Regions from separate parts of the Homo sapiens genome. Here regions 2, 3 and 4 are each linked to region 1. Evidence: promoter capture Hi-C in 16 types of primary human blood cells and fetal thymus (Javierre and others, 2016). All regions are on one chromosome and are shown on one strand. The core of a region is centred on a gene start or on the middle of the fragment in contact, and the rest is flanking DNA. Distances in the headings are between cores, read along the strand shown.

What was found. Contacts are between HindIII fragments. The CHiCAGO score rates a contact against its expected background, and 5 or more counts as called.
Region 2: a fragment that was not itself captured here is called in contact with the fragment with the promoter of IDNK in region 1 in 1 of 17 cell types (total CD4 T cells); the score reaches 8.0 in total CD4 T cells.
Region 3: a contact is called between a fragment that was not itself captured here and the fragment with the promoter of IDNK in region 1, in 1 of 17 cell types (activated CD4 T cells). The highest score is 6.7, in activated CD4 T cells.
Region 4: a contact is called between a fragment that was not itself captured here and the fragment with the promoter of IDNK in region 1, in 1 of 17 cell types (total CD4 T cells). The highest score is 6.8, in total CD4 T cells.

The regions. Positions count from the first base shown.
Region 1 is chr9:83,618,807-83,625,496 of GRCh38, forward strand. IDNK (IDNK gluconokinase) reads left to right here and starts at 4,337. Exons shown (of 5, transcript NM_001001551.4): 1 at 4,337-4,415. The coding sequence starts at 4,366. RefSeq lists a silencer at 4,032-4,561 and enhancers at 4,742-4,871, 4,892-4,941. The HindIII fragment of the contact is 10,566 bases long and covers 2,956-6,690 here.
Region 2 is chr9:86,344,701-86,351,390 of GRCh38, forward strand. It overlaps TUT7 (terminal uridylyl transferase 7), which reads right to left. Exons shown (of 27, transcript NM_024617.4): 3 at 1,599-1,780; 4 at 969-1,085; 5 at 277-454. Among named protein-coding and RNA genes, the nearest start is that of TUT7, 6.4 kb to the right of the region's middle. The HindIII fragment of the contact is 2,173 bases long and covers 2,868-5,040 here.
Region 3 is chr9:85,954,158-85,960,847 of GRCh38, forward strand. NAA35 (N-alpha-acetyltransferase 35, NatC auxiliary subunit) reads left to right here. Exons shown (of 23, transcript NM_024635.4): 3 at 2,203-2,236; 4 at 4,315-4,429; 5 at 5,636-5,710. Among named protein-coding and RNA genes, the nearest start is that of NAA35, 16 kb to the left of the region's middle. The HindIII fragment of the contact is 1,305 bases long and covers 2,961-4,265 here.
Region 4 is chr9:85,730,852-85,737,541 of GRCh38, forward strand. The region is part of intron 1 of AGTPBP1 (ATP/GTP binding carboxypeptidase 1); the gene reads right to left. Among named protein-coding and RNA genes, the nearest start is that of AGTPBP1, 7.8 kb to the right of the region's middle. The HindIII fragment of the contact is 6,338 bases long and covers 1,008-6,690 here.

The sequences.
Region 1 (6,690 bases), core at 3,087-5,586:
CCCCCATATCCCTTCATTTCTAGTCTCATTCCCACATCCTCCTTCTATCTCTGCAGCTTTTCTCCATCAATTAATTCATCAATTAATCTAACTTCAAAGATCATACTTTTCCTACTCTGTTAAAGGCCCTGATAATCCATTAAACAAATGATTGACAAGAAGTGAATCAAGTCCAGGCACAGTGGCTCATGCCTGTAATCCCAGTACTTTGGGAGGCCGAGGTGGGCAGATCATTTGAGGTCAGGAGTTTGAGACCAGCCTGGCCAACATGGTGAAACCCCAGCTCTACTGAAAATACAAAAATTAGCCAGGCGTGGTGGCGCATGCCTGTAATCGCAGCTACTCAGGAGGCTGAGGTGGCAGGATCACTTGAACCTGGGAGGCGGAGGTTGCAGTGAAGAGATTGTGCCACTCACTCTGGCGTGGGTGACAGAGTGAGACCCTGTCTGCCTCAGAAAAATAATGATAATAATTTAATAAATAAATAAAATTTATTTTTATACATGTGTAAATCCAGTTGTTGTAGCACCATTTGTTGAAAAGACAGTTCTTTCCTCATTGAGTTGTCTTGTCACCCTTGTTGAAAATCAATTTCCCATAAACTTATGGATTTATTCCTGGACTCCCAGTTATATTCCATTGGTCTGTACATCTATCCTTATGTCAGTACCAAATTGACTTTATGAGTATATAAGTGAAGTAAGTTTTTTAAATGGGAGATGTGAATACTCCAACTTTTCCCTTTTTCAAGATTTTTCTATCTCCTTCAAATTTCCATATGAACTTCAGAATCAGCTTCTCAGTTTCTGCAAAGGAGCCAGCTGGGATTTTCATGAGGATTGTGTTGAATCTGTATAATTTGGAGGGTGTTGCCATCTCAAAAATATTGTCTTCCAAATCATGAAAACAGGCTGTCTTTCCATTTATTTAGGCCTCCTTTAATTTCTTTCAAAAATGTTTTGTCGTTTTCAGACTACCATTTTATACTTCTGTTAAATTTCTAATTATTTTGTTCTCTTTGATGCTCTTGTAAATGAAAATTTTTTTAATTTTTTCCTTGCAGATTGTTTAGAATTACAATTGATTTTATACACTGATCTTGTAACCTGTCACTTTCCTGATCTCACTTATTAACTCTAGTAGGTTTATTGTGGATTCCTTAGGTTTTCTATAAACAAGATCATGTGATCTGGAAATAGAGATAGTTTTACATATTCTTTTCCAATCTGGATGCCTTTTATTTCTTTTTCTTATCCAATTGCCCTGGCTAGAACCTCTAACAGAATGTAGAATAGAAGCGGTGAGAGAAGACATTCTTGCCTTGTTCCTGATCATAGGGAGAAACATTCAGTCTTTTCACCATTAAGTATGATGTTACCTGGGGTTTCACAGATACTTTTTATCTAGTTGGGAATTTTGTATTCCTGGTTTGTTGAGTATTTTGATCACAAAGGGAAGTTGAATTCTGTGAAGTGCTTTTGTTTTACATCTATTGAGATAACAGATACCATTTTGCCTTTCTGCAAACTTTGTTCTGGATCTTTAGAGTGGCCACTTTTAATTATGAAGATGTGAAGCAAGTATACAGCCATTACTTCCAGAAGAAAGTGTAACAAGCTACTTGGCTAAGACCTGGGATTTGACTTTTAAGCTCTTTCATGCATCTATTTGAACTCTCAGAATTAAACTGGGATCAAGGACTCTCCTGGAAGGGAAAGGGGGAAGATCCAAACTCTTCTCAATTAGACATATCAGAGCTGTGAGGCTCCTGGTATGTGAATATCTGTCCCAACCCAGCCATCTTTGTGGATGATTTGCCTCCCAGGGAAGTGCCTGTGCGCATTAAGGTGCTCGTCACTGAGCTCTGTTTAACCGCTGTGGAAATGGTCAGCTTCATACAGGAGCGCTGCCATTTCTGTTTGAGACTTACAGTACATGCTGTCCAGAATCTGGGGGTGATCTGGACTTGAGTGACTATAGAAACGCATGCAAGAAGCTGTGCCTCGCTAGGGACTCGGGGTTTCCAGAGTACCATGTGCCTCAGTACAACAGTTCTTGCAGTAGACAGGACCTAAAACCAGACCAATATTCAGCATCTGGGTTGCCCCATAGTAACAGCTGGGAAGCACCGAGACAACCAGGACCAGCAGGTGGCACTCTTTGGAAAGCAAAAAAAAAAACGTGGAATTCAGCTCTTAGGGGCACCTTTGAAGTTCCGCTGTCCTGGAAGCAGGCACAGAGTTTCACTGACACTGGCATGCTGGGTATCTTTCATTGGTACCTCCAGATACAATCTCCACCCTTCTCTTCCCTGCTCTGAGCCCAGGAAATTGGCATGCATGGGCACCGCCGGACTCCCTAGCTCTCCACCTTCCAATTGGGTTTGGCTGGTGGGGTTTGGCCACGAGCAGGAGATCACAGGGCAAGAGGAGGGGAGGGGAGGTTATTTATTCTCCTGATTATTTTTCTGCTGGGTCAACAAGGAATGTCTATCTCTCTCTTCCTAAGGCTACAGTCCTGTCAGACACTTCTTTCTATATGGTCTATTCTCTCTGTCTCTCTCCTTCCATTCTCTTCCCTTCCCATATAAAGGCTCCCTCTCATCAGCCCCTTTCTATTTAAGAGTGAAAACACTTCTCGGTTACTCAGATGTGGACTCTGCCCCTAGTTGCTTTTTCTGACCCTACCCACACCTGTGCTAATAGTCCCTTTGTTAAATCCTGTTCACCTGCCCCAATTTGAGCATGCTGTTTCCTGCCACCACCCTGAGCAGCACAGCAAGTTTAAGATCCTTGGACATGTCTGGGGAAAGAAATCCAAGGAGAAGAATCAGATTTTCTGCTAATCATTCTGATTTGAACATTGAAAGAAATATGAGCTTTTTTTTTTCATACTGAGCTAGCGAAGCAGGGCACGAGTTAAGAGTATTTGCATACACATCTATTCCTCTTATCAAGCTTGAGAATGCCTAGAGGGTAATCTTTTAAATGAATATTAATATGATATTAACCAGCACATGGTAGATGTTCAAGAAATGTGTATTGACCATAACTGAATTGTAAGACCTCTCTCCAAGCCTCAATTTCTTCACCTGTACAGCCCCCATCCAGATTGAAATCTCACCTACTCGGGCTAAGTATATGAAAAACAAAGGCAGTGCAGGGGTAATTGAACTATTCATTAGATAAATGCTTTTATGTCACTTTTATTGTTTTCTAGGACACAGAGTAATACCTACCTTGGTTAACAAAAGACCAAAGGAGGTGATGCCAAATGCGGTTAGAAGTGCTTTTAATCACTTTGGGAGGCCGAGGCGGGTGGATCATGAGGTCAGGAGATCGAGACCATCCTGGCTAACAAGGTGAAACCCCGTCTCTACTAAAAATACAAAAAAAATTAGCCGGGCGCGGTGGCGGGCGCCTGTAGTCCCAGCTACTCGGGAGGCTGAGGCAGGAGAATGGCGTGAACCCGGGAAGCGGAGCTTGCAGTGAGCCGAGATTGCGCCACTGCAGTCCGCAGTCCCACCTGGGCGACAGAGCGAGACTCCGTCTCAAAAAAAAAAAGAAGTGCTTTTAATCAAATAGTTCAAACGACACATAATTAACATTGTTTTAAAGCAAATGGACACTTTAAAGTGGTGCTCCTTCCTCTTAAAGCCCCAACCAGTGCTGGATTTAACAGCAGAGCCATACAGCCAAGACATATGCTGCTACGGTCAACACTCAACCCTAAGTTTGACACCAAAAGATGGCCGCCATTTATTATTGTGACAAAAGGCCAGATTACAAAACGCTGTGTACGGCCTGATCCCAGTTTTACAAAATACTCATACCCATCTATCTACGACGGGGCGCGGGGAAAGGGGAGTCGTTTTAGGAAGTGCTGCTTATTGCTGCCTGGTGTGGGAAATTATGAGTCTTATTTTCTGTTTATTCTTTTTACAAGAACATTTTTATAAATGAATGAATGAATGCTTTCCATGGGTGGATGAGGATCCGGCCTGCCAGGGTGAGGATCCTCTGGAACCAAGAGGGGCCGGGGCAGTAGAACGACAGGTGGCGGGGCTTTGGGCGGCTCCCTCCAGCCCAGGGAGACGCGAGTGCCAGGCCGGGCGCGCGCTTCACTTCCGGGAAGAGGAAAGAGGGAGGGGAGGGGAGAGGAAAAGAAGGGGCAGGAGAGAGAGGCCGGGAGGTTGGGAAAGGGAGGAGGAAAGCATGGAAAAGGGGCGCGGGAAAACGGGGAGGGCGCAGAGGGGCACGGCCCTCACTGCCCCGGCCGGGGCGAGAGCGGCTCCGCCCCTCGAGCGCCGGGTAGGCCGGGGCCGGCGGGGCCCGGAAGGCGACGGGAAGGAGCCGAGCTTGGGTTATGGCGGCGCCGGGCGCGCTGCTGGTGATGGGCGTGAGCGGCTCGGGGAAGTAGGTCCGGGAGAGGGCGGGGGGCGCCCGGGACAAGTGTTGCGGGCGCGGCGGAGGCCGGACGCGTCGCCGTCCCTGCCGGTGGACTGGGGTCTTGGGGACCCCCCACCCTTCCCTTTGCAGATGAAGAAACCGAGGCCCGCGGCTGCCGCGCCCTCTCCCCGCCCTCCAGCCTGCTCGCGGGGCGCCCATCCTGGGACCGCATCCGAGCTCCGGGTTCCCGCTCTAAGACGGGGAGGCTGCGGCGACCGCAGGCTCAGGGAGGAAGCCGCTCCTGAACAGGCGGCTGCGGGGCCGCGCAGGTGGAGGCCTAGCGAGCGGCGCGGGGCTAGGTTTCGGGGCGCCTTGTCGGGGCCAGGCGGGAGGGCGCACGGCCTCTAGCGAGAGGACGCAAACCACGGCCCAGGCTCTCACAGACCTTTGGCCATCTGGACACACAGCGGCCTCCTCCTATGAGGCCCTGGACTTCTCCGATTCAATTTTGGAAAGTGAATCGTTTTCCCCTTCCTTTCATCAGCTTAACCTGGAAGGAGACAGCGTTAATATGGAGGGTGGCTCCTGAGGGTTTGGAAAGAAAGAAGAGAATTGTGGAAACCACAGAGGTAGCCCAGTGTGCTAACCTGGAGACTGAGGAGTTAACATTTGGCTTCCTGTTTAAACCAAAGTCTAACTGTGCCCTTTATCAGAAAAGACAGCTGCTGTACCATTCGACCACAGGCAGCAAAGGACAGAACTTGATCAGCTAAAACATCATAACCTTCAAGGGCCTATAGGACCCTTCTAGAATTTTCTGAATCAGGAACGGCCCATGTTGTGGCCTGTGTAGTCAGGTGTATATTAAAGATTTACTCCAGGTAGATGGGTTTTGCTTTCCAAAATTATTGTAGGGTTCTCAGCCACAAAGATAAAAAGAAATCTTGAACTGCAATTGAAATAAAACATGGAGCCCCCAAATCCCTAGCTGCCATATGATTTGAATCAGTTGGAGAATGTAAAATCATTGCCATGGTGTGATGTAACAGGAGTGAAGAGCCCTAGGTCTTGGTTCTGTTGCTGTCTGGCTGTGTGAGCCTGGGCAGTTCATGTACCCCCTCTGAGTCTTGAATCAGATGAGGGAGGCCTAATCCCTATGATGTATAGCTTGTGATATTCATGTACTCAGTAATTATTGAGCTCAATCCTTACTCTATGTCATTGTCATATAGCGAACAGGACAGATAAAATCCCTGCCCTCAAAGGATTTACATTCTGGTATGGGAGACAGAGTAAATGAATATATGTAGTGTGTGAGTTGGTGATAGATGCTCTGGAGTAAGGGGAACAAAGAGTGCCAGGCAGAGTGGTCAGGGATGTCTCCTCTGGGGGAGTGGCGTTTCAGCAAAGACCTGCAAGACTTGAGGAACCTGCCATGTGGATAGCTGAGGAAAGGGCAGGACAGGCAGAGGGAATGGCAGGTGCAATGGTTCTGAGGCTTAGCTTCTTTTGTTTTTTTTTTGTTTTGTTTTGTTTGAGGCGGAGCTTCACTCCTGTTGCCCAGGCTGGAGTGCAGTGGTGCAATCTTGGCTCAATGCAACCTCCTCCTCCCGGGTTCAAGCAATTCTCCTGCCTCAGGCTCCTAAGTAGCTGGGATTATAGGCGCCCACCACCATGCACAGCTAATTTTTTGTATTTTTAGTAGAGACGGGGTTTCATCATGTTGGCGAGGCTGGTCTCAAACTCCTGACCTCAGGTGATCCATGCGTCTCAGCCTCCCAAAGTGCAGGGATTACAGGCGTGAGCCACCGCGCCCAGCTAAGGCTTGGCTTCTTTAAGGAGCAGGAAGGAACCCATTGTGGCTGAGTGAGGGGAAGCATGATGGGAGATGAAGTCAGAAACAATGCAGGTAAAGAGAATGTGGTCATATGCTGGCAATATTTTGAAGGTAGAGTCAGAAAGATGTGTTTGTGGACTGGATGTTGGGTGTAAGAAGACAAGAGAGAAGTCAAGGATGATTCAAGATTTTAGGCCTGAGTAATTGGAAGGAGGGAGTCGCCACAAACTGATTTGGGGAAGCAGTAGATAGAGCAGATTTGGAAGACAACCTCAGAAGCTCAGTGTGGGATATGGTGACTTGGACGAGCCAATTAGTCATCCAGTGGATGGTGGTTGGATGTCCAAGTCTGAAGTTCAGAGGAGAGGGACTTTAGATCTAACTGTGGGAATCACTGTTGTGTGGGTGTACTTAAAGATCTAAGGTGTTGAGATCACCAAAGGAGTGCATGTAGATAAAGAAGCT
Region 2 (6,690 bases), core at 2,704-5,203, 2.7 Mb after region 1:
ACAAGAGTCCCACAGTGCCCCAATAATGCAGGGCATTCAACTTAAAGTTCACACACAGGGTAAAATTTATAATGGAAACAGGTTTATAATGACAATGCATATGAAAGTCCTTGTTACCTTAGGGAAAGCCAGGGAAAACAAAAAACAAAAAAATAGAAAACACAAGAGCTTCATGACATGGTAAATAAATTTTTATTTGATGAAAATTACTATTGGTAGGAGAAATGAATGAGGTACTTTTAGGTAGTTAAATAGAAAAACAAATCTAGAAAATACCTGGTAACTTGTGTTGGAACACATTTTCCATGATACGTTTAATTTCCAGCCTCTGTTCCAAGTTCTCATTGTGTAAGCCAAATTCCTGTACCACTTTGTCAATGGCAATGCCAACTGCATTTATCTGGGAGGGTGTTGGTGGGGGTAACGTAGTGAGCAACTCTTCCTCTTGCTTCTCCTTTTAAGATCAAATGTTGAGATTAAAAATGACTTACACATAGTTTTGACCTTCTACCACTCATGAAGACAACACCCTATAGAGTTTTCTTTTTCTTAGCCCTCCCTTCTCATTTTAGCTGTGTTAGTTTTCATCCTATCAAACATATACATACTTCCTTATGCACATAATGTGGATCAGTGGTAACAGAGGATAGGTGGGCATAAGGAGAAAGTGTAAGGAAAGAATATTAAAAACAGCACTTACAAACATTGTTTGCTTTAATACTAGTATAAGGACATATACCTGGGTCCTATCAATGACTTCATATAACCTGATGCTGCCCTTAAGGAAATTCACAAGATTAACCAGTAAAATACATCTGACCAGTATTATGTATTTTGGCTCAAATATATTCAATAAATAAAGCAGTAAAGTTATCAATATCATAGCCTTAAGGAGAAGAAAGCCACAAAGATGACAAGTAATAACAACTAACAAGTAAGCAGACTTGTTTGGGTTACATTCAATTTACCTTAATGTTTTTCTTGTGCCTCTTTTCCTTGATATGCTTATGGGCAAATGCAATGGATTCAATTAAAACATCACAGAGTCTGCAGGTGTACTTTGCTGTAGGGTAGTTTCGTGGTCGCTATAATTTGAAGAGATTTATTTAGAGAGAGACATAAGTAAAACCAAACATTCAGATAAACAAAATCAGCCAGGAAATGATTTCCCCTTCAATTTCTTTTCTCTAAAGAGACAGGAGTCTCACTATGTTGCCCTGGCTGGAGTGAACTGGCTATTCACAGATACCATTATAGCATACTACAGCCCCAAACTCCTGAGTTCAAGCAATCCTCCTGCCTCAACCTCACAAGTAACTGGGGCTACAGGCATGCCACTGTGCCTGGCTTCTTCTTCACTTTTAAAATTGCTACTGTTATTGTTCCCTTTATCACTACCCTAACAGTCATTTTAAGTATAATAGCAATGACTCCTAATCCTATTAAATCACACTGGACATCACTTTTAACTTGTAGTGCTTAAATACTGATAACCAAAGTAGGATATCTAATTGATCAGAGCATGCATACTCAATTAACAACAAAATTGAGGCTAAAACCAGGATTCTAACCAACAAATATATATATAAGGATGTTACCCTTTTTAGCCTGTCAATGCAGTCTCTCTTCAGTCTCTCCTCAGCCTGCTGTAAGCCTAGCAGCTCCTTCGTTGAAAGTACAGACTCATCGATCACAGGGCCTTCCAAGTCTCCATCCTGCTCATTTTCCTCATTTCTAGTCTTCCGTGGCTTCCTAGGTCTGGACCTCTGCTTCTTGTTTTCTTAAGGTGGGGGAAAAATATTATTGGCAATATTAAATAATGCCACTCCTGAGTAAAAAGCAGACCTTACATATGTATTAAATCATGTGAGAGAATAAATCACATCTGCATGCAGAGCAGAAGGAAAGGTAGCTGTCCTATGGACAAAATGCTTTAATACTGTATTCAGTGAGCACATCACCTGTAGACATTAAGCCATAGAAATCATCTTTTTGGAAAATTTAAAAGAATTCTACTTCAATCATACAATTTGATTTTTATTATCTCTTCCTGGTATACTGCTGAGCATAGCAAAGCAACAGAAAAATTATACTCTGAAGGCAAGTATATCTATAATTCTATTATATTAAAATATTACAATACATATTGTAAATATATCTTACATATTCTATAATATCTGTAAGTACACCTGTTATTCTCATTAAAACCAGCCACATTTGCTTTCATCTTCTATAAGTGAACAATCTCAATAAGGCAAAATGCAAAATGTACCCCTGGACAACTCAGAAATCAACTATATACTCATCTGGAGTGAAAAATCATCATTTAGTTGCAAATTTAGCCATCAATAACACCTAAGCCGGGTCCCTCCGTTAATATGAAGAAGTCCAAGCCAAAATTTTATTTACTAAGGACAACTATCTCTCATTTTACCTTTACCTTCATTTTAGCTTCTTTGAATGGCCTGTACACTGAGCATATTTCAAAGGAAAAAAACAACTGGCCATTGAAACAAAAGTTTTCTCTAAGTACATTTGTTTATAAACTCTGCTATTAGTTCTATAATCCTTATAATGAATAAAAATCATCCTGTTCCTTTTTAAAACTTATAACTTTTCAACTTGTTAAAGTGATTGTGGGATTAAACCATAAAAAATTGTTTTAGATAGCTTTGATAACTTATATCGAGTTTTAAAAAATGAAACTATTAGTAACACATTAGTGCTTGGAAACATAAACCTACTGAAAAGCCCTACATGAAGTAATTCCTCCATCAAGTTTTCAGAGGAACTCATTACTACTAGTATGGCAATTACAATGAACTGGCAGGCTGAAAAGGAAATATAGGACCTCCAATTTTATAAAAAGCTTGCTGAGAGCGCTAAAGGATAAGCAGCAAGCATTGTGCTAAAACTACCTGAGATGACTATCTCAAAATTCTGCAAACACCTTCCACAATATAAGAAAATTAAAAAATTAAAAAAAATTAAAGTGTTGGAAAAGTAGTTTTAAAAAATCAATCAAAATACACTGAACAAATAAAATACTAAAAGGTAAGTTGTCATTTCAACAGAAAATCAGGCTACCTTGCGCTACCTTAATATTTCCTTTTTAATACTCCCCCGACTCCCAATTAAATTATCATAATCTTTTAAGGCCAGTATTTCTGGTCTGAACAATTTTTTTTTTTCAGATAAGCACTTCTTTTACTTAGAGATGTATCCATTCTCATTTAGTTTGCTTATCATTATAAACATTATCAAAAAAACTGCATCTAACTTCAGTGTTTATTACAGGTTTCTTAGGCAAAAACTCTATAAATTTAAAATAATACTGCAATACCCTTTAGAAAAGCCCCTATTAGTTCACAAGCCAGTAAGTGATAGGGAACCGAATTCCTTTTTTAAACTCTTCCTCTCTTCTGGTCACAAAGGTTTCTCCATATAACCATATTTGCTGTCATTTTCTAGAAAGAGTAACTTCTCTCTTCCTCCAAAGACCTCAATCAACTCCTACTGCTTTTATACAGAAGTGGATGGCTGCAGAAATTCTGTCAGATAATGGCAGCTACCATGATGGTGTATCTTATTATGCAACAGATGTAAAGCACTTTATATGTACTGCCTTATTTAATCCCTACAGCAATCCTGCTAATACTGTCCCCATTGTACAGATGGGGACAATGCGAATCCAAGAGAATAACTTCTCCAAGAACACATGGCTAAATCAAAGTAAAGGGATTGAAAATATAGATTAAAATATGGATGGGGCCAGGTGCAGTGGGTCATGCCTGTAATTCCCAGCACTTTGGGAGGGTAAGGTGGGAGGACTGCTTGAGCTCAGAAGTTCAAGACCAGCCTGGACAACATAGTGAGATGTCATCTCTAGCAAAAATGAAAAAAATCAGCCAGCAAGATGACTCACTCCTGTGGTCCCAGCTACTCAGGAGGCTGAGACGGAAGGACTGCTTAAGCCCAGGAGGTGAGGCTGTGGTGAGTCATGATTGCGCCATTGCACTCCAGCCTGGGTGACAGAGTGAGACTCTGTCTAAAAAACAAACAAACAAAAAAAGGATGAAATCCTGAAATTCAGCCTTCTAACTAACAACATAAAAACTGGAAAGAAATTACTAAAATCCCTTCTTGGAACATACCCATTCACATCTAGAGTGGACTAGCACTGAAAGGCAATATAACCTTCTAAACCTACTTTCACAGGCATGCATGGTAAAAACTGTCAAAATCTCACCGGAGGGACTCTTGGAGGGTAAAGCTAGGTACTGATGAAAAATTCTTGGCCAGGCGTGGCAGCTCATGCCTGTAATCCCAGCATTTTGGGAGGCCGAGGCAGGTGGATCACCTGAGGTCGGGAGTTCGAGACCATCCTGGCCAACATGGTGAAACCCTGTCTCTACTAAAAATACAAAAATTAGCTGGGCGTGGTGGCAGGCACCTGTAATCCCAGCTACTCGGGAGGCTGAGGCAGGAGAATTGCTTGAACTCGGGAGGCAGAGGTTGCAGTGAACCGAGATCATGCCATTGCACTCCAGCCTGGGCGACAAGAGTGAAACTCCATCTCAAAAAAAAAAAAGAAAAAAGAAAAATTCTCATAATTACTTGGAGGAAGACTACCTGGCTTACCTCAGATTTATTGTAATAAGAGTTCTCTATATTCGGCATTCCAAGTTTCCCATATTTTATTTGCATATGGTTCACAAAGGACATGTGTATTTGAGTGGATGCTTTCCAGCTAAGATCATTAATGGCAATGTCCCAAATACATTAAACTGGCAATCTAGGACATTTGAAGGCTAAAGTAGGGGCAGTAATGTAGAGCTGAAAAAAACAGAAGGTAGTACCGTATGTGGGGGGGAAAAAAGCAACTCCACCATAATTTCCATTATATCTTCTCACATTGTTGAATAATACCCTTCCTTATTAAGACACAATTTTGATAAAGAAATTTCGATCTCTTTAATGAGATCCTTTTTAGTTTATACTTTCAGTTGAATCTCTCTAAACTAAATAATGTTATACCGAAGCTTAATGCTTCCTATATGAAGATTTTCAAGGGATAGAAACTGAATAATTCTTTACTTAATAACTGTGAAAGCATATACCTGTATGTCATACAGCAAAAACATGCAAACTTTTGAATTACCTCCAATAAAAAAATAGCAAAATGCATTTCCTATTCAAATACACTTAAAAGCAACTTCTTTAGTTGCTTTTATAAGAATACACATAAAATAAGAAAACATATAAAAGTTTTTGTGGTCAGCCAACAGTTCCTTTTAATGTCTAGTTGCAAATTTTTGATCTATAAACTTTCTTTTTAAAATGCTTTTCAGCCGGGTGCAGTGGCTCACACCTGTAATCCCAACACTTTGGGACGTCAAGGCAGGCAGATCATGAGGTCAGGGTATCGAGACTACCCCTGGCCAACATGCTAAAACCCCAACTCTACTAAAAATACAAAAATTAGCTAGGTGTGGTGGCACGTGCCTGTAGTCCCAGCCACTCAGGAGGCTGAGGCAAGAGAATTGCTTGAACCTGGGAGATGGAGGTTGCAGTGAACCAAGATCGCACCACTGCACTCCAGCCTGGGCTACAGAGCGAGACTCCATCTCAAAAAAGAGAATAATAATAATAAAATGAAATGGTTTTCAAGATCAACTTCTACAAGACTATAGGTAACAAAATTAAATACCCACATCCCACCTGGACAGTAATACAGAAACACTTAAATATACACAATTTTTAATAAAGAAAAACACAAATCAAAAGCCCAGAAATTATCAAGAAATATTCGGCTCCGCCGTCAGGATTTCAGGTCCAGCGAGGCTGAGTTAATGGCCAGAGTAGCAGAGTCCCCAATTTTAGTTCTACTTCCTCATTTACCGCGCTGCATAAACAGGTCTGTGGAAATTTAACCTCTCTGAGCTGCAGCTGCCTGATTTGTAAAACTGTGATTCCATTTTTGATATATTACAACAGAGTACTGCATCAGATAATTCCTCAAGCTATTTCTAGCTTAAAGATTTAAGTTTTATGTCTCCCTACTACTTAACGCCTTTATAACACTTCATTCTGTTTCTGCTACTTGATATTAATATATACTCTTAATTTTCAAATTTAAAAATATCTGAGGGCCAGGCGCGGTAGTTCACGCCTGTAATCCCAGCACTTTGGGAAGCAGAGGCAGGTCGATCACTTGAGGTCAGGAGTTCAAGACCAGCCTGGCCAACAGGGAGAAACCCTATCTCTATTAAAAAACAGAAAAATTAGCTGGGCATGGTGGTGTGCACCTGTAGTCCCAGCTACTTGGGAGGCTGAGACATGAGAACCGCTTGATCCTGGGAGGCAGAGGCCACAGTGAGAGGAGGTCACATCACTGCACCTCCAGCCTGGGTGACACAGTGAGACTGTCTCAAAAAAAAAAAAAAAAAATCAGGCTGAATGTGGTGGCTCACGCCTGTAATCCCAGCACTTTGGGAGGCCAAGGTGGGTGGATCACTGGAGGTTAGGAGTTTGAGACCAGTCAGGCCAACATGGTGAAACCCTGTCTCTATTAAAAATACAAAAATTAGCCTGATGTGGTGGCATGTGCCTGTAGTCCCAGCTACTTTGGGGGATGAGACAGGAGAATCGCTTGAACCCAGGAGGCAGAGGTTGCAGTGAGCCAAGATC
Region 3 (6,690 bases), core at 2,363-4,862, 2.3 Mb after region 1:
GCTACCTCAAACTACAGGGTTCAAGCAATCCTCCCACCTCAGCCTCCCCAGTAGCTAGGACTACAGGTGTGCACCACCATGCCTGGCTAATTTTAGAAGATATTTTATAGATACAGGGTCTCACAGTGTTGCTCAGGCTGGTCTTGAACTCGCGGGCTTAGGCAGTCCTCCTGCCTTGGCCTCCCACAATGCTGGGATTACAGGTGTGAGCCACTGCATCTGTCCTGTTTTTAATTTTTCAAGGAACTGCTGTACTGTTTTCCACAGTGTCTCGACCATTTTACAAACCTACCAGCAGTGCACAAGGGTTTCAGTTTCTCCACATCCTCATAACACTTATTTTCTGCAGGGATTTTTTTTTGTAGTACCCATCTTAATGAGTGTAAGGTGGTGTCATTGTAATTTTAATTTGCACTTTCCTAATGAATAGTGATCATCAAGGGCATTCTTAGATTGAAGAAAATTTTTGTCTTTTTTTAGCCGTAAGTGCATGGAAGTGAAGAGTACATGATTAGTTTAGCTTGGGGCCACTGTCTTGATTTGTGCTGAAGCTGCAGCAGTTTTGCCCTCCATTGCCTTTTTACCTTCCTATCATTGCTTTTGCATCATTAGTACAGGTGTCAACACAATAAAAAAAGACAACGAATGTTTTGGTATGATTATCAAAGTAATTTTAACATGGCAAGTTCCTGGGTTCCCAGACCACTCTTCGAGAATTGCTGGATTACTAGTATGTGTTCTGCTATGTTTTGTTGTTTTGTTTTGTTTTGTTTTGTTTGAGAGGGAGTCTCCTTCTGTCACCCAGGTTGGAGTGCAGTGGCACAATCTCGGCTCACTGCAACCTCTGCCTCCCGGGTTTAAGTGATTCTCCTGCCTCAGCCTCCCAAGTAGCTGGGATTACAGGCACCCACCACCACACCTGGCTATTTTTGTATTTTTAGTAGAGATGGGGTTTCACTGTGTTGGCCGTGCTGGTCTCAAACTCCAGACCTCAGGTGATCCACTAACTTCAGCCTTATTGGTGTATTTTCACACATGATTCTTATCTGTTTCAGTACCTGGAACTGTTAGAAATTAATATTATTTAACTTACAGTTGGCTAGGGAAGATTGGCTAAAGTTCTATAAACTGCTTTTTTACACCTTCCACAGGATTTAGCCATCTATATACATATATATATATATATATATATATATATATATATTTTTTTTTTTTTTTTTCTTCAGACAGAGTCTCGCTCTGTTGCCCAGGCTGGAGTGCAGTGGCGTGATCTTGGCTCACTGCAAGCTCCACTTCCTTGGTTCACGCCATTCTCCTGCCTCAGCCTCCCGAGTAGCTGGGACTACAGGTGCCCACCACCACACCTGGCTAATTTTTTTGTATTTTTAGTAGAGATGGGGTTTCACTGTGTTAGCCAGGATGGTCTCGATCTCCTGACCTCGTGATCCACCCGCCTTGGCCTCCCAAAGTGCTGGGATTACAGGCGTGAGCCACCTGGCCCGGCTGCCATCAATATTTAATCTACTTAGCATGTTATAGCAGTGATTTCTGACTTACCTGCATATTAAAATCATCTGGAGTGCTCTAAAACCACTGTATAGGTCCCAACTCTAGATTTCATTGGTTTGGGATGCTGCTTGGACTTTGGGATTTAGAAAGTTTCTCAGTTGACCCTAATATGCAGCCAAGGTTGAGGACCACTGCTTTATAGGGATTGAACACTGTTTTGATTACCTGTTTACTCAAGTGTCTTCTACATGATTTAAACAAAATAGGATTTTAAAAAATGGTTTTGACACTGTTACTGGAACAAAAGGAAATTAGATTATGGTAACGTGGTTTAAAAACTTGAGAAGTAGCAGTCAGTTCTATGTAAAAGTTTACTTGGCGAAATATACTAGTGATTTTTAAAAATGGGGTTGGTAATTCTGATTGGAATATTATGGCCTGCGATGGGTCACTTATTCTCAAAAGTATTATTTTTTTCCTAAACCACTTGATTTATCGTATTCTTTTGTATTTACACAAGTACTCACTGTATAGAATGCATTATATTAGTAATTGAGTAGAAATAAGTATTTCTTAGAAAATGAATTTTAAAGTAATACAAGCACATCTTTTCAGGTGCTAATGTCTTTTTTTTCTTAGAATTAAAAGTTAAATATAAATATGTTCAAAGGGTTTTTCTCTTTTTTTTTTTAGAATTAAAGTTGGGAGAACTACTTCATGATAAGCTGTAAGTATTTATCCTTTGAAAATAGTGTAGTGTAATGTTTCAGTCTGTTTTTTTTTCCTCATGTGGAGTAATATTCCCTGAAGTTTGAGTAAATTTACGTTTCAAAATTGTGAAAATAAAACTAATTATAAATATATTTTTAACTGTGATGAGCTATTTTGGGGCAGCTGACCCTAGTTGTGATGTGAAATGGTTATACCTAGGGAAACTGTAACTTATGGTCCTTTCCTTGAGAGCAGATGTAATGAATGTGGAATTTCTTGAATAAAAGATATCAGTTGTATGTCATATGTGATAGGTTGCTTGATAACCAGAAATTGGGTGACTAAGTGCCTAGATAAAAGTAAATGAGAATCCCTGTGTCTTAGTCAGTTTAGTGTTGTTGTAGCTGAATACCTGAGACTGGGTAGTTTATAAAGAGATTTATTTGGCATACAATTCTGATGACTGGAAGGTTCAAGACTGGGCAACTGCGTCTAGTGAGAGCTTTAGGCTGCTTCAACTCATGGTGGAAAGCAGAAGGGGAGCAGTGGGGAGTGGCATGTGGTGCAAGGAGATCACATGGCAGAGGAGGACGCAAGAGAGAGAACCCGAGGAAGTCAGAGTCTTTAAAACAAACCACCCTCTTGGGTAGTATCGTTGACCCTTGAGCAACTTGGGGATTGGGGTGCCGACCCACCCCCTCACAGTCAAGAATCCACGTATAACCTTTGACTCCCCCAAAAGCTTAACTACTGGTAGCCTATCATTGACTGGAAGTCTTACCAATAACATAAACCATTGATTAACACATATTTTGTATGTCATATGTGCCATATACTGTATTCTTAGAATAAACTAGAGAAAAGAAAATGTAATGAAGAAAATCATAAGGAAGAGAAAATATACTTACTGTTCATTAAGTGGATCATCATAAAGGTTTTCATGTTTGTCATATTCATGTTGAGTAGGCTGAGGAAGGAAGAGGAAGTTAGTCTTGCAGTCTCTGGTGGCACAGGTGCAAGAAAACCTTTGTCTAGGTGGACTCCTGCAATCCAAACACATGTTGTGAAAGGGTCAACTGTAATTCGTTCCTGGGAGAGCAAGAACTCACCTCCCTGGGAGGGCATTAATCTATTCATGGGGATTCTTCCCCATGCCCCAGACACTTCCCACTAGGCCTCACCTCCCAACACTGCCGCATTGGGGATCAAGTTTTAACATGAATTTTGGTGGAGGCAAACCACATGCAAACAATAGCACCTTGGAAAAACAAAATAAATGGAAATACTTGTTCGTCTTTATATGCCCATATGTAGCCCCAGTTCCTATACTGCCATGGCCAGGCTCAATTTTCAAGGTTAGGAATATGAAACTTTTAATTAGTAAGTAGACAAGATTGGACATTGTGGTTGCAGGGAAGGGGAAGTAGAATCTGAAATTCAGTTCTTCTCAGATTTGAGCGTGTGCCAGAATTGTCTGGAGGGCTTATTAAAGCGTAGATTGCTGGGTCCTACCCCGAGAATTCTTTATTAGGTCTAGTGTGAGACCACAGACATCTTATATATTTTCTTTTTTTTTTTTTTGAGAGGGAGTTTCACTCTTGTTGCCCAGGCTGGAGTGCAACAGTGCAATCTCAGCTCACCGTAACCTCCGCCTCCCGGGTTCAAGCGATTCTCCTGCCTCAGCCTCCCAAGTAGCTGGGATTACAGACATGCACCACCACACCCAGCTAATTTTGTATTTTTAGTAAAGATGGGGTTTCTCCATGTTGGTCAGGCTGGTCTTGAACTCCCAACCTCAGGTGATCCACCCGCCTCAGCCTCCCAAAGTGCTGGGATTACAGGTGTGAGCCACCACACCCGGCAGAAATCTTTTTCTTCCTCACAGTGCATGTGAAATAATTTGAGTGGCAAGTACATGAAATAATTTCTGTGTCAGTCGACAGTTAATTGAAATAGAAGTGTTAGCAAGTTGAGAAGACTAAATGCATAGAATACTTTAGTTATTAAAAGTAGTATAATTTTATACCGTTGTGAAAATATGAATAAGCTTACTGGCTCAAAAACAATTTGTTGGCTCAATTTTTTTATTTGCAGATTTGGTCTTTTTGAAGCCATGTCTGCTATTGAAATGATGGATCCCAAGATGGATGCTGGCATGATTGGAAACCAAGTTAATCGAAAAGTTCTCAATTTTGAACAAGCTATCAAGGTAGTTACCATTGTACTTTTTGTGTTTCCATTTATCTTTTGTTACTTCCTGTTAAAACATGGTGCTTAATAATGAAATGAAACGTTGTATTAAAGTCTGTTTCCTTCAAAGCAGCTCAAGCATATAAACAAGAATTAGTTATAACCTTTGTATGTTAAAGTCTGAAAATTGAGGTCTTCATTAAAATCTTGCTCTAAATTTGTGCATTTGTGTACTTTTAAATTTAATTTTTGAAAGCATTTGACTATATATTCAAATAGGAAAATTGGCTTGGGGGTTAAATTTTGTGTATTAATATATTCATATATAAAAGTAAATTTACACAAGTAAAATACTTGTGGTAGTGAATTTAAAATTGCTTTAGAAATTCATTTATACTTGCCATAGAGTTTGATTTTACATATTTTATAAAGAAAGATTTACTAGGCAAATGGATATCGTAAACAAAATTTACAAATAGTATAGTTAACCAACTTAAGTGAAGCATTTTAAAAAATCTTTAGTTTTCGGCTGGGTGCGGTGGTTCATGCCTGTAATCCCAGCACTTTGGGAGGCCGAGGTGGGTGGATCACGAGGTCAGGAGATCAAGACCATCTTGGCTAATACAGTGAAACCCCGTCTCTACTAAAAATACAAAAAATTAGCTGGGCGTGGTGGCAGGCGCCTGTAGTCCCAGCTAATCCGGAGGCTGAGGCAGGAGAATGGCGTGGACCCGGGAGGCGGAGCTTGCATTGAGCCGAGATCACGCCACCTGCACTCCAGCCTGGGCGACAGAGTGAGACTCTGTCTCAAAAAAAAAAAAACAAAAAAAAAAACTTTAGTTTTCTTTCTAAGTAGTTTTGGGTCATTAAAATGATTTATATTAATACTTAAAGCTGGTTTGAACTGTGCTTTTAAAATACTTGTTGATTTGGCTTTTCATTTTATATAAAGGCCTTTATTTTGATATTTCTTGTTGAAGACCTAAGATATATTGTTTTTACAATTATTATTTGTCAATTAAAAATAAAATTTATAAGAAGATATATTGTTTTTAAGAGTACAGAGTTAATTTGGTGTGATAGTTTTATCAGATGATAAGATAGCATTTTCTTAGAATTGCTGTTTTTAAATATTGAATGTTAGAAATCCAAAATGCTACTATACATAGTAACCATAAGTTTAAAAAAATTTCTGCTTATATGTCACATTCTTCCTCCTTTTTAGGATGGCACTATTAAAATTAAAGATCTCACCTTGCCTGAACTGATAGGGATTATGGATACATGTTTTTGCTGTTTGGTAAGAATGGAAATAAGACTATTGGTTAATTTTAAAACTGTGACTTACCTGAATCTTGTGATTTAAAAGCCTATACACTAATGTTGAGTATGAAATAAATGTAATACTTGCCCTAGTAAAGATGTGCATAAGATTAACAGGCCTAGTAATAGCATTTCATCTTGTTATCTACTTGATTTTACATTCTAATTTTCTGGGTGAAGGGATATTTTCTTTTCAATGAAGATAATATTATAGCCGTGGTTCATAATACCCTTTTCGTTCTCAAGTTACTCAAGTGATAAGTCTGTAATTGGAAGGTTTCATAAATAAGCATGGAATTGAAACAAAAGAGAGCTATTATGCAATGGCTTTGGAGAGATTTTTTCTAATCTAGGATAAATTGTAGTAAACTGGCCATCTCCTGTGAAGAAAATTTTTTTAGTGATTTGTATATGCTGAATTATGTCTTCCCTAGAAAGTACTGTTTGTCGAGAAATTCTCATTTCTACTGCTTCCCCCCCGCCCCACTTTCTGACCATCCCTTTCTTTTTATATTGACATTAAATCATTTTCCTTAGAAATATGTAAAATTTATTCATTTGTTCATTCAGCATTTATTGATTGCTAGTGTGTGTACTTGTATTAGGTGTTTTATATGTATAGTTTTCACTTATGTTTTACATGAGCTTTATTAGATATCTGTATTATCTTACTGCCTGTGATTACATTGCTTGGGAGGGGCCTAGCCAGAATCTTAATCCTGATCCTTCATCTTCCAAAGCTGTCTCTTTACCCCCTCAAAGATTTCTTTATTACCTTTTAGCAGTTTACAGTCCTAGTGGGTGGAGTAAAGAAAGGAGTCAAAGGATTGCTGGGAACAGACATGTGAATAAACAATTCTGACAACATGTAAATGCTTTTATGACGGTGCCGTGGGAACAGAGAGGAGGAGTTAATTATGTCTGAGAGAGTAAGAAAGGCTGTAGAAAGGAATTAAT
Region 4 (6,690 bases), core at 2,927-5,426, 2.1 Mb after region 1:
AATAATTCCTTATATTATTCTTTCCCTGTTAAATTACTATGTGGTTTCTATCTCCTGATTGAACCCATACTGATACATTCCAACAATTCTTTAAACTATTTAGCAGCCTATGGTAAACCTTCTCTTTGCTTAAGGGAAAGTAGTTCTTTCTCTACAAGTGTGTCTTTACTGTTTTATTTTTAAATGAAGGATTTGGGCCATGGAGTAGGAGAGGAATCGTACAATATCCTCAGAAATGAAATGAAGTTGTGACATCAACTTTTTTAAATTAGGAAGTGATACTAATCATGCATAGCCAGGGTCAAGAACCATTCCTAGGTCAGCCTATTCAATATTTTAATTGGAACATTAACTTCATCTTAAAGTACTATCACTCCTGTTATGCCTAACTGCTATTTTGAAACTTAGCCTACTATGAGATACCACTTCACAACCAATAGAATGGCTAAACTTTAAAAAGACAGATAATAACAAGTGTTAGCAAGGATGTGGGAAACTGGAACCCTCACACATTGCTGACAGGAATGTACAATGGTGCAATTACTTTGGAAGTAGTTTGGCAGGGTTTTTTTTTTCGGGGAGGGAAGTGTTTTGGTTTTTTTGTGTGTGTTTGTTTGTTTGTTTTTGAGACACGGTCTTGCTCTGTCACCCAGGCTACAGTACAGTGGCACAAACAAGGCTCACGGCAGCCTCAAACTCCTGGGCTCAAGTAATCCTTCTGCCTCAGCTGGGACCACAGGTGCACACCACCAGCCACCTAATTGTTTTTTCCATTCTTTGTAGAGACCGGGTCTTGTCATATTGCCCAGGCTGGTCTCAAATTCATGGGCTCAAGCAATTCTTCCACCTTGGCCTCCCAAAGTACTGAGATTACAGGCATGAGCCACCAAGCCCAGCCCAATGATTATGTTATATTTTAGTCCAATCTTCAAACAGGAAAATTGATTTCACCTATTTTATTGTCATTAATTTTATCAAAAAGTATGGGTAAGAGTAAATCTACAAAAAGCTTATGTATCTTTCCTGATCATGCATTCTTATCAAAACCAAACAAATCTGTAAGGTTCACACACTACTCCACAAAAAATGTTCAGATACTTATAAAAAGTCTAATTAGTTTTGCTTTGTGACATTTCCATTTTACTATCAATAAATGAGGTAGGTTTGAAGAGCAGAATCTCATTACCCTTCAACTATTAAATGATTTGTTTAAAATAACTCTTCCTCCAACTCAGATTTCAACTATTTTCAGACTTAAACAAAGCCAAAATTTCTAAGTCTATACAGATGATAAATGAGATTTAAAATCTTACCTTGAAACACACATTTTTCTCTGCCTCTAACCTATGACTATGACCCTTTTTTTTTTTTTTTTTTTTTTGAGACAGAGTCTTGCTCTGTCGCCCAGGCTGGAGTGCAGCGGCGTGATTTCAGCTCACTGCTAGCTCCACCTCCTGGGTTCCGGCCATTCTCCTGCCTCAGTTTCCCAAGTAGCTGGGACTACAGGCGCCCACCACCAGGCTCGGCTAATTTTTTGTATTTTTAGTAGAGACGGGGTTTTACCATGTTAGCCAGGACGGGACTATGAAGAAACCACTATAACTCAAATAGTGGTTTGGGTTTTTTTGAAGAAACCACTTTATGAAGAAAACCACTATAACCCAAAGTCAGCTCCAGCTAATATCCCAATATAAATCAAAATATATAAAATATGAGGAATAAAAACAGCTAATATGGCATATAAAAAACAAAGAACAGAAATAAGTAATTTACTTTAGGAAGTAATTACTTTAAATGTAAAGGGATTAAATTTGCCAATCAAAACACAAAGACTGGCAGAATAGATTTTTTTAAATGATCCAACTGTATGTTGTCTGCAGGAGACTTACTTTAGATCCCATTGCACAAATACATGGAACGTGAAAGAATGGAAGAAGATATTCCATGCAAATAGTAACCAAAAGAGAGCAGGAAGGGCTATACTAGTATCAGACAAAACAGACTCTGAATCAAATAAGTTTACAAGAGAAAAAGTATATTATATATTAATAAAAAGTTCAACAGAGCAAGAAGATAAAACAATTATAAACATTTACACACCAACAAAATATATGAAGTAGTTACAGATCATCAAAATACGAGGTAAAAATTAACATAATTATGGGGAGAAATACTTCTATAATAAAAGGTGGATACTTAATACACCATTCTCAATGAGGAAAAGAACAACCAGAAAGAAGTGAAGAGAGAGATGATTTGAACAACACAATGAATCAACTAGATCTAACATATATTTAGAACAAGGTACTCAACAACAGAATATAAATTCCTCTCAAGTGCACACAGAACATTCTCCAAAACAGGCCACATATTAGGATACAAATTAAGTCTCAATTGCTTTTAAAAGATATTTATCATACAAAGTGTGCTCTCCAACCTCACAACAGGATTAAGTTAGAAATCAATCTGAGAAAGAAAACTGGAAAATACACAAATTTATGGAAATTAAACAACGTACTCTTAACCAATGAATCAAAGAAGAAATCACTGGGTTAACCAGAAAATAGACACAAATGAAAGCAAAGACATGACATACCAAAACTTACAGGATATAGCAAAAGCAGTGCTGAGGAGAAAATCTATAGACATAAACACATTAAAAAGGAAGACAGATCTCAAAACAACCTATCTTTACAACTAAGGAACTACAAAAAGAAGAACTAAACCCAAAGTGAGCAGAAGGAAGAAAATAAAAAAGACCAGAGGAGAAATAATTAAAATAGAGACTAGAAAAACAATAAAGAAATCAACAAAACCAAAAGTTGGTGCTTTGAAAAGATTAACAAAACTGACAAACCTTTAGCAAGATTTAAAAGAGAGAGGACTCAAATTACTAAAATCAGAAATGAAAGGGGAGACATTCATGACCAATTCCACAAAACCAAAAAGGATTATAACAGAGTACTGTGAACAACAGTACACCAACAAATTGGATAACCTAGATGAGATAAATTCCTAGAAACACAAAACCTACCAAGCCTGAACCACAAAGGAATAGAAAATCTAAATAGACCCATAACTATTGAGGAGATGTAATCAGTAATTAAAAACCTCCTTACAGGCTGGGCACGGTGGCTCACGCCTGTAATCCCAGCACTTTGGGAGGCCAAGGTGGGCGGATCACAAGGTCAAGAGATCGAGACCAGCCTGGCCAACATGGTGAAACCCTGTCTCTACTAAAAATACAAAAAATTAGCTGGGCGTGGTGGCGCGTGTCTGTAGTCCCAGCTACTCAGGACGCTGAGGCAGAAGGATCGCTTGAACCCAGGAGGCAGAGGTTGCAGTGAGCCAAGATGGCACCACTGCACTCCAGCCTGGCGACAAAGAGAGACTCCGTCTGAAACAAACAAACAAAAAAACCTCCTTACAAAGCAAAGCCCTGAATCTGATGGCTTCACTGGTAAATTCTACAAAATACTTAAAAAAAAAAAAGTCCAGTTCTTTTCAACTCTTCCAGAAAAGTGAAGAAGGAACGCTTCCTACCTCATTCTATAAGGCCAGTACAGCCCTGATACCAAAGTCAGACAGATGTTACAAGAAAATGACAGACCAGTATTCTTTATGACCATTAATGCAAAACTCTTCAACAAAATACTAGGAAACCAAATACAGCAACATGAAGGCAAATCAAAACTACAAGATATCACTTCGTAGCTATTAGGATGGCTGCTACCAAAAACAAAACAAAAACACAAAATAGTAAGTGTTGATGTGCATAGATTAGAATCTTTGTGCACTATTGATAGGAATATAAAATGGTGCAGCCACTATGAAAAACAGTATGAAGGTTCCTTGAAAAATTAAAAATAGAATTACCATACAATCTGGCAATTCCACTTCCGGGTATATACTCAAAAGAACTGAAAGCAAGGTCTTCCATGGGAGGCCGAGGCAAGTGGATCATGAAGTCAGGAGACAGGGACCATCCTGGTTAATACGGTAGAACCCCGTCTCTACTAAAAATACAAAAAAAAATTAGCCAGGCATGGTGACACACACTTGTAGTCCCAGCTACTTAGGAGGCTGAGGCAGGAGAATCACTTGAACCCAGAGGCAAAGGTTGCAGTGAGCTGAGATCGCGCCACTGCCCTCCAGCCTGGGCAACACAGCGAGACTCCATCTAAAAAAATTTTAAAAATAAATAAATAAAAAGCAAGGTCTTGAAGAGATGTTTACATACCTAGATTCAAAGCAGCATTATTCACAAGCAACCCAAGTGTCCATTCATCAACGGATGAATGCATAAACAAAATCTGGTATATACATATAACAGATTATCCAGCCTTAAAAAGAAAGTCCTGACACACGGTACAACATGAACGAACCTTGAAGACATTGTGCTAAATGAAATAAGCCAGTCACAAAAAGATAAACGCTGTATGATTGATTCCACTCATGTGACCTACTCAGAGTTGTCAAATTCATAGCAACAGAAAATAGAACAGTGCCTGCCAGGGAATGGATTATGGGGGAGGGGGAGAGTAATTGTTTAATATATACAGAGTTTCAATTTGAGAAGATAAAAGAAGTTCCATAGATGTATGGTGGTGGCTGCCGCACAACAATGTGAATATACTTGATGCCACTAAACTACACACTTAAAAGTGATTTAAATGGTAAATTTTATGTTATATATGTTTTACCACCAATTTTTAAAATAAATATTTTTTTAAAGATCAAAATATGAACCTTGTGTTAAAAATTGGGAAAAAAGTTGTTTCAAATATAAATAAAAGTTAAAATCAATAAGATTAAATTAAAAGGTGAGAGATTAGTTTTCACCATGCACCAAAAAGGAGTCTAGAAAGTGTGTTGACCATAAATTAATAAACCTAAAGAGTTCTTGTTAAAATAATATTTTTTAATTCATTAAACTCTATTACATGTAGGCAGTGTTCAGATTTTTATTAACATTATCCGACCATAAATCCCTCTGGCTGACTTTATTATTGTTTTTAATCCCTATATAACCAATATCCTTATAATCTTCATAATTTTAAATCATTTTCCCCTTAAGGAAAAATGTGAGGCAAAGACAGCAAGTGCCTGGAATTTCTCCATAGGGCAGTTCATTCTCAGCATGAATTAAGTGAGAAATGAGCAGAGATTAAGAAGGGAAACCAGGTCACTTTTTTTTAAACTTATGAGTTAGATATTAGTGGAGCTTTTCACGTTGTGCCTTCACTGTTTAATATTTACATTCCCAAAATGTTAAATTTGAACATTTATATAGAAATGTACTACCGGGTCTGATTTTTGTTTTTAGATGGTATTCAGATTACTAATACTATAATCCCATTGTATCAGCACCTGACTAAAACCATTAAGAAACTTTCTGTGAATAACCTTTATTGTACTTAATTTTGTATGTTAAAATATTTTTCTTTAAATTTTTTAACTGGCACATAATAATCATATGTATTTATGAGGCACAGTGATCTTTTGATACATGTAATGTATAGCAATCAGATCAGGGTAATTAGCAAATCCATCATCTCAAACATTTATCATTTCTGTGCATTTGATATCCTCCTGGCTATTCGAAAGTATATATTATCAATTACAGTCATCCTATAGTGCTAGAGAACACTGTAGAGCTTATTCCTACTATCTAGCTATAATACTTTTTTTTAATAAGACCTTTACCTTTACCCAAAGCGTAAAACAAAAGCAAACAAGAGACTGTCACTACCACTTCACTTCTTAATCAAACGTTTGTGAGAAAGCCTCTTTAAGATTTAAATCCAGAAGTTCTAAAAGCACGGTGCGTGGGCCCCTGTGGTCCTGACACTCTTTTAGGGGACCCACAAGTTCAAAACTATTTGTATAATACTAAAATTTAAAATCTTAAAATTACTGGCATCTTGGACTGAGTTAAAGTCACCATCAACCACCAACAATTATAAAACAAGAAAAAGCCAGCCATGGCTCACGCCTCTAATCCCAGTACTTTGGGAGGCGGACACAGGCGGATCACAAGGTCAGGAAATCAAGACCATCCTGGCTAACGCGGTGAAACCCCATTTCTACTAAAACTACAAAAAATTAGCCAGGCGTGGTGGTAGGCGCCTGTAGTCCCAGCTACTCGGGAGGCTGAGGCAGGAGAATGGCGTTAAGCCAGTAAGCGGAGCTTGCAGTGAGCAGAGATTGCACCACTGCACTCCAGCCTGGGCGACAGAGCAAGACTCCATCTCAAAAAATAAAAAATAAAAAGACAAGAAAAAGCCAATGTCACTTAAGAATGTCCTTGAAACAGTAAAAATTATTAATTTTTATGCACCTTTTTATGTGACAAAATGGGAACTTTCCATGAACCATTTCTGCTACATACTGAATTACAATAGTTGATGGCTGTCTCAAAGTAAAGTGCTTCTGTAACTGAATTGACAGCTTGAACTAGCCTCTTTTTTAATGAAAGTGACTGAAAGAATGATTGACAGACTATGGTTACTCAAATTGGAATATTTTGGCAGAGGTTTTCTCAGAAATGAATAAACTGAGCTTGTCACTTTAAGTAAACAAGTCACATTTGTTGCCAATGATAAAATTTGAGCTTTCAAGCAAAAATCCGAATTCTGGAAAACTCATATCCACCATTGTCATGTCAAGACCTAAACAGCTTCCCAATAA